Regions from separate parts of the Homo sapiens genome. Here region 1 is linked to region 2. The links are contacts of gene promoters, found by promoter capture Hi-C in blood cells and fetal thymus (Javierre and others, 2016). All regions are on one chromosome and are shown on one strand. Each heading gives the region's core, a stretch centred on a gene start or on the middle of the fragment in contact. The rest is flanking DNA. Distances are from core to core; before and after follow the strand shown. Region 1 holds the start of TMEM208 (transmembrane protein 208). Region 2 holds the start of CTRL (chymotrypsin like).

The links. The method cuts DNA at HindIII sites, captures the fragments that hold promoters and counts their contacts. A CHiCAGO score of 5 or more calls a contact.
Region 1: a contact is called between the fragment with the promoter of TMEM208 here and the fragment with the promoter of CTRL in region 2, in 2 of 17 cell types (neutrophils and total B cells). The highest score is 6.0, in neutrophils.

What each region holds. Positions count from the first base shown.
Region 1 is chr16:67,225,662-67,228,384 of GRCh38, reverse strand. TMEM208 (transmembrane protein 208) reads right to left here and starts at 1,255. Exons shown (of 6, transcript NM_014187.4): 1 at 1,161-1,255; 2 at 454-549; 3 at 1-30. The coding sequence starts at 1,166. It also overlaps the pseudogene FBXL9P. RefSeq lists an enhancer at 1,103-1,452. The HindIII fragment of the contact is 11,037 bases long and covers 1-2,723 here.
Region 2 is chr16:67,930,321-67,933,156 of GRCh38, reverse strand. CTRL (chymotrypsin like) reads left to right here and starts at 1,295. Exons shown (of 7, transcript NM_001907.3): 1 at 1,295-1,356; 2 at 1,956-2,059; 3 at 2,158-2,237; 4 at 2,350-2,431; 5 at 2,569-2,749. The coding sequence starts at 1,305. RefSeq lists enhancers at 1,804-2,320, 2,321-2,836. The HindIII fragment of the contact is 4,510 bases long and covers 495-2,836 here.

The DNA of each region.
Region 1 (2,723 bases), core at 6-2,505, 700 kb after region 2:
GAAGACCAACGTCACAAGGCAGTAAATGGCCTGCAAGCAATCACAGGATCAGGTTGGGGTCAGAAGTTACCTCCAAACCATGGGTCTCCCTCAACTCTGACCAAGAATTAGGCCAGGCTGTGGGAGGAGCAAGGTTGTTCTTACAGGGTTGAAGAAAGGGCCCTGCTCCCTGAATCCCAAATACCCACTCTCCTCTGACACCCAACTCAGCCCAGGAAAGAAGCCTTTGTGTACTTGGAGGTAGGAAGAGCTCTCAAATTCAGCTACGACTCACGCCTTCATTTTCTTTGTGTTTTACTAGTTAGCACTTTCTCTGTGCCCAGATCTCTCATTTCTTTTTGACTGGAGCTCTCTTCTAGAGCTTTTTCGGGTACCACTCCTCGTCACCAAGCAGGGCTGAGGACTAGGGAACTGACTATAAGTGGGCATAGAAGCAAGGAGGTAGGCACTTACATTGGCCCCCAGTATGATCCGCAGGTAGAACTTCAGAGTCTCTCTGTTCTCTTCAAATATCTGCTTCTTCCCTCTCGTGCCCACTTTGCCCTTGGGCTGCAGAGGAATGATGAGATGCCGTCAGGAGGCCACGGTCCTCCTCATTCTCCCCACCAGCCTGGTGAGCTATAGAGCTCCATCCGCAACTCAGCCAGGTCCCCGTAGTGCAGAAACCTAGCAAAATCCCTGGGATGTCCACCCATCCTCCAGTCCATTCTGCCTAGGGCTGACGCCATCTCTCCAGCACCCGCAGCTAGGATCAATCGCCTCTTGCTCGCCCTGGAACAATTCAATCCTAAGCTAATACCGCCTCTGGATCCCGTGGTAGTCTGGCTTTAGGCTAACGACTCTTCCAAGGGTACTCCTGAGCGGAGTTGAATGGTGCCTCTCTCAGGCCTCCGCTGGCGTAGTCCCGATCTGGGTTAACCCCCACCTCAGGTCACTTAGATCTCTGGCCTGCCCTGGTACTGATGCCCACCCCGCTCTGGCACTAGTCCTGGTATGGTCCTGCGCCGCCATCCCCCCAGCCCAGCTCTAGCACGGTCTGGCCAGGGATGGCGCCCCGCTCTGGCCCACCCCATATCCCTTAATGTTCTTTCTCAGTTTTCACTCTCACAGCCCCTGGAGAGCTTTGCTGGTGCGGACCCCGCCCTATCCATCCTCCTTACCGCCATGGTGCGAGGCAAATACCCAGCCCGGGAAACACGGGAGAGCGACCGAAACCGCAATCACTAAGCACCACATCGGCAGCTCATGCACTTCCGGCGCAGACCGAAGTCGTCAGCTTTTGCGACGGAAATAGGTCTCACTTCCTTCCCAAGCCCCGCCCCAAAGAGGCGAGACTACATTTCCCAGAAAGCCTTGCGCAGTGGGGGCGGAGGCGGCAGGGATGCGATGGCGGAGTCGCTGCCCCTGGAGGTGAGAGGAAGCCGCCCTCAGGCCTAGCTCTGGACAGGCCCCGCCCTCGCGGTCCTGAGCTTTGGGGAGGGGCTGTCAGATAGCTAGCCCGGCCCCTCCAGCCTGGCGGAAACGACCCGCCCTCCCGATCCCGGGACCTTCTAGCTCTGGGTAACGGTTCCTCCTTTGGGCCACTCTGTCCCTTTAGCTTGGGGGACCGTCCTCCCCTTCCCTATCGGCCCCAGAAGATAGCTGCCCTGTCATCTCCGCGAGAACAGGCCCTCTGCCCATCCCCTTCCCTTGAAGTGGCTGTCTCCTCCCCGCTCAGTTCTGGAAGATGTCCGCTCCATCTCATCGTCCCGAAGGGTAACTGATCTTATCCCCATTGGTCCCTTGGGATGATCTCTCCATTTCCTACAGAGACGGCCGCCCCTTCTCCCTGGCAGTGGGAAACAGACTGCTCCCTCCCCATCAACTGCAATGATCTCTGAGTTCCTTTAACAAGGATAGGCCTGTTCCCCATTCCTAGGCCCCTAGTGATGGCCGCCCTTACCTCTTTCACTCCGTGGGATGTTTGCTCCTTCCCCTTAGCCAGGGGCAAGACCACTCTGCCCCATCTGCCAGGGAGATAACAGGTTTTGTCTTCAGTGGCCTGTTGGAATGGCTTCTCCATCTCTTTTGTCCTGAGGGTTGGCAGCCCCCTCTCTCTGCCCATGGGAAACAGGCCACCCTTTCCCATCGGTCCTGGAATGATGCTCCTGTCCTTAGCAAAAATAGGCCTGTTCCCACCCCTATTGAGCTTGCAGTGCTATCCCTTTCCCCCTTAGCTTTAGGGGCTATCTATTTCCATCCCCATAGACCCCATGAGTGACCAATCATTATCTCCAGTAGCCCCCTTGAGATGGGACTCATGGGATGGTCACTCCATCCTCATCACTGCCTCCTCTTGTCCCTCTAGAAAGGCCACCCTCTTCTTAGGTCAATGAATTGTGTCCCTTCCCGACTCACCCCAAGGGATGACAGGTTTGTTCCCCTCTCCCTTTGCTCTTGGGCTGGCTGCTTAGCCCCAGAAGACAGGATGGCCACTGTCTTAACTCAGCTCAAACAGGCTTCCGTGCCTCCCTGGAGGGATTGGGACTTGGTCAGTCCCAGTCCCCATCAATACTGTCTTCCCTATGCCTCCCTTCCTGGCCCAGAAGTCTATTCTGCCAGTCATTGTCCTCTCAGTAATGACTGCTTTATTTCCCCGACCCCTTCCCTGAGCATACTCTTGGTGAAAATAGAGGTAGAGGACTGGACTGTCCAACCTTAATTTAATCCAGTAAGCACTGGCT
Region 2 (2,836 bases), core at 46-2,545:
CATGATCCGCCCGCGTCGGCCTCCCAAAGTGCTGGGATTACAGGCGTGAGCCACCGTGCCCAGCCAATTCATCTCATTTTTTGGCTGATGCTGTTTCTTTGAGATGGGGTCTAGCTCCATCGCCCAGGCCGGAATGCAGTGGTGCACTCATGGCTCACTGCAGCCTTGAACTTAAGGGCTCAAGTGATCCCTCCTGCCTCAGCCTTCTGAGTTGCTGGGACTACAGGTGTGTACCATCATACCCAGCTCATTTCTTAATTTAAAAAAATTTTTTTTGTAGAGACAGGGTTTCATGATGTTGCTCAGGCTGGTCTCGAACTCCTGGAATCAAGCCTCCTACGTCTGCCTCCCAAAGTTTTGGGATTACAGGTGTGAGCCACCACACCCAGCCCTGATCTGTTCTTGAATCAGTTAAAGCCCTCACACTCCCAGAAGGCCGCCAGCCAATGCACCTGTTGGAACTTTGCACACAGGGTGTCTTCTCCCTTCAAGCTTGGTCTGCAGCTCAGTAACAAATGGGCTACAGACACCAGGGGCTTGCCCATGGGAGCCCCAAGGCCTAAAGAGGGTGGCAGAGATTTGATGTCTGTCACTCTCCACCTGCAGCCTCAGTCCACGGTCGGCCAGGCACCAAGAGCTCACACTTTGCCCTCCTAAATGCCAGGCCCTTCATAAGTATCATCTCATTGTTAAGAGCGGAGGCTTCAGCGCCAGACAAATGCGAGTTTGTGTACAACTCAACCACGTGCTGGTGGGAGAGTCACCATCTCTGAGCAGACCTGTGACTCCTGTTCCAAATGGACGAGGAACCACTGCGATGATGTGTTAGGACTCCCAGCCTGCCAGAACCTCACAGCCCCTGGCCCTTCACAGCAAAGTTGACCGCAGTGAGCATTCCATCCACCAGTCAGAACACCCTGGACGCTGAGCGGCCTTCTCTGAAAGCCTGGTGCCTTTGTTAGCCCTGGGTGACTCCTGTGATCCCAGCCACCAGGTTGTCACTATAGACCTAATTTAACCATCTGTCCTCAGTACCGAGGGCTCAACATTTGGAATGGGAGGTGGTTCTGGGAGCCAATTAGAGGCCAGGCTTTGGGAGGTGGCAGAGGTGAGTCTCACACCTGGGCTCTGTCTGATAAGTCTAGGTCTCGGTCAGGGGACCTTGGCCTAAAGGGCCTGTCTTGCCTGGAGCGTGGGAGGGGGCTGAGTCTACACAGCTGGCCTGGCCTCAGGCCTGGAGCTTTAGCTCAAGGACGAGAAGACCCATAAAGCCAGACCCAGCTCCCAACCTCACATCTGCCACGATGTTGCTGCTCAGCCTGACCCTAAGCCTGGTTCTCCTCGGCTCCTCCTGGGGTGAGTGGGCCAGGACCAGCCCTGATTCAGCCCTGGGAGCAACTCAGCTCCCAGCAACAGCCCAGGGAAGGAGCTAGGCTGGCTGGAAGGGACGAAGGTGGACAGAGTGGGCAAAAGAAACAGGATATGCCAGGGCAGTGGAGCAGGGAACAGGCCTGCAGGGCTGGGAGGGGGCAAGAGGTGGGGTGGTCTCACAAATAGGACCAGAGATTGAGCCAGGCCCTGGAGCCCGGGAGGGTTTAGGAAGCTGAGACAGGAAGACCTGTCCATGTCTTTTAGAAAGAACCTTCTGGCTGCATGAAGGGTATGAACTGTTCAGGTCGGGAGGGGGCAGAGAGACCAGGGGTAGAGATGGGGAACAGCGGGGACTAGGCTGGAGACAGATGTAGGAGAACAGCAGGGCTGGGGGACTGGGTGGATAGGGATAACCAAGATAGCTGTGGGGCCCGAAGGTGCTTGCATGTACCCTGTTGGGGAAGGGGTAGTGCTGTACCCTCTCGACAGACCTCTCTGGGGTGCACAGCCTGGGGCACCCAAAAGGAGGTGGGGAAAGATGGGCTGAGGCATGGGAAGCAGGTCCTCATTAGCCCAATGGCCAGGCTGCGGCATTCCTGCCATCAAACCGGCACTGAGCTTCAGCCAGAGGATTGTCAACGGGGAGAATGCAGTGTTGGGCTCCTGGCCCTGGCAGGTGTCCCTGCAGGTACACCACCAGAGGGGTGGGCAGGGTCCTGGGTACGTCATGCCTAGGGGCAGCCTCAGCAGCCCACCCCCACTCTGACCTCTGAGCCCTGACCACAGGACAGCAGCGGCTTCCACTTCTGCGGTGGTTCTCTCATCAGCCAGTCCTGGGTGGTCACTGCTGCCCACTGCAATGTCAGGTGAGTGCCTGCATTCCACCTGCCCCGCCCCTCGCCTCTTCCTGCCTCCTCCCCTGGCTGTCCCCCTCTCGCGCTGGCCTCCCTGCAGCTGCCTAATCCCACCCCCTTGCAGCCCTGGCCGCCATTTTGTTGTCCTGGGCGAGTATGACCGATCATCAAACGCAGAGCCCTTGCAGGTTCTGTCCGTCTCTCGGGTGAGTGCCTGGGCTGCAGACACGGAGGAAAAGTGGGCAGTGCAGGTGGGTGGGTGCTGGGAACGAGGAATTCAGGACATGCCCTGGCCTACCCTGCTCAGCACCCATCAGAACATGGACTGTTTCTGACCCCACAGGCCATTACACACCCTAGCTGGAACTCTACCACCATGAACAATGACGTGACGCTGCTGAAGCTCGCCTCGCCAGCCCAGTACACAACACGCATCTCGCCAGTTTGCCTGGCATCCTCAAACGAGGCTCTGACTGAAGGCCTCACGTGTGTCACCACCGGCTGGGGTCGCCTCAGTGGCGTGGGTAGGGACTCAGGCCAAAGCTCAGGGTGGGAGGACTGGGGTGGGGACCAGTGTTCTGGGCCCCATGTGACCACCCCTCCTGGCCCAC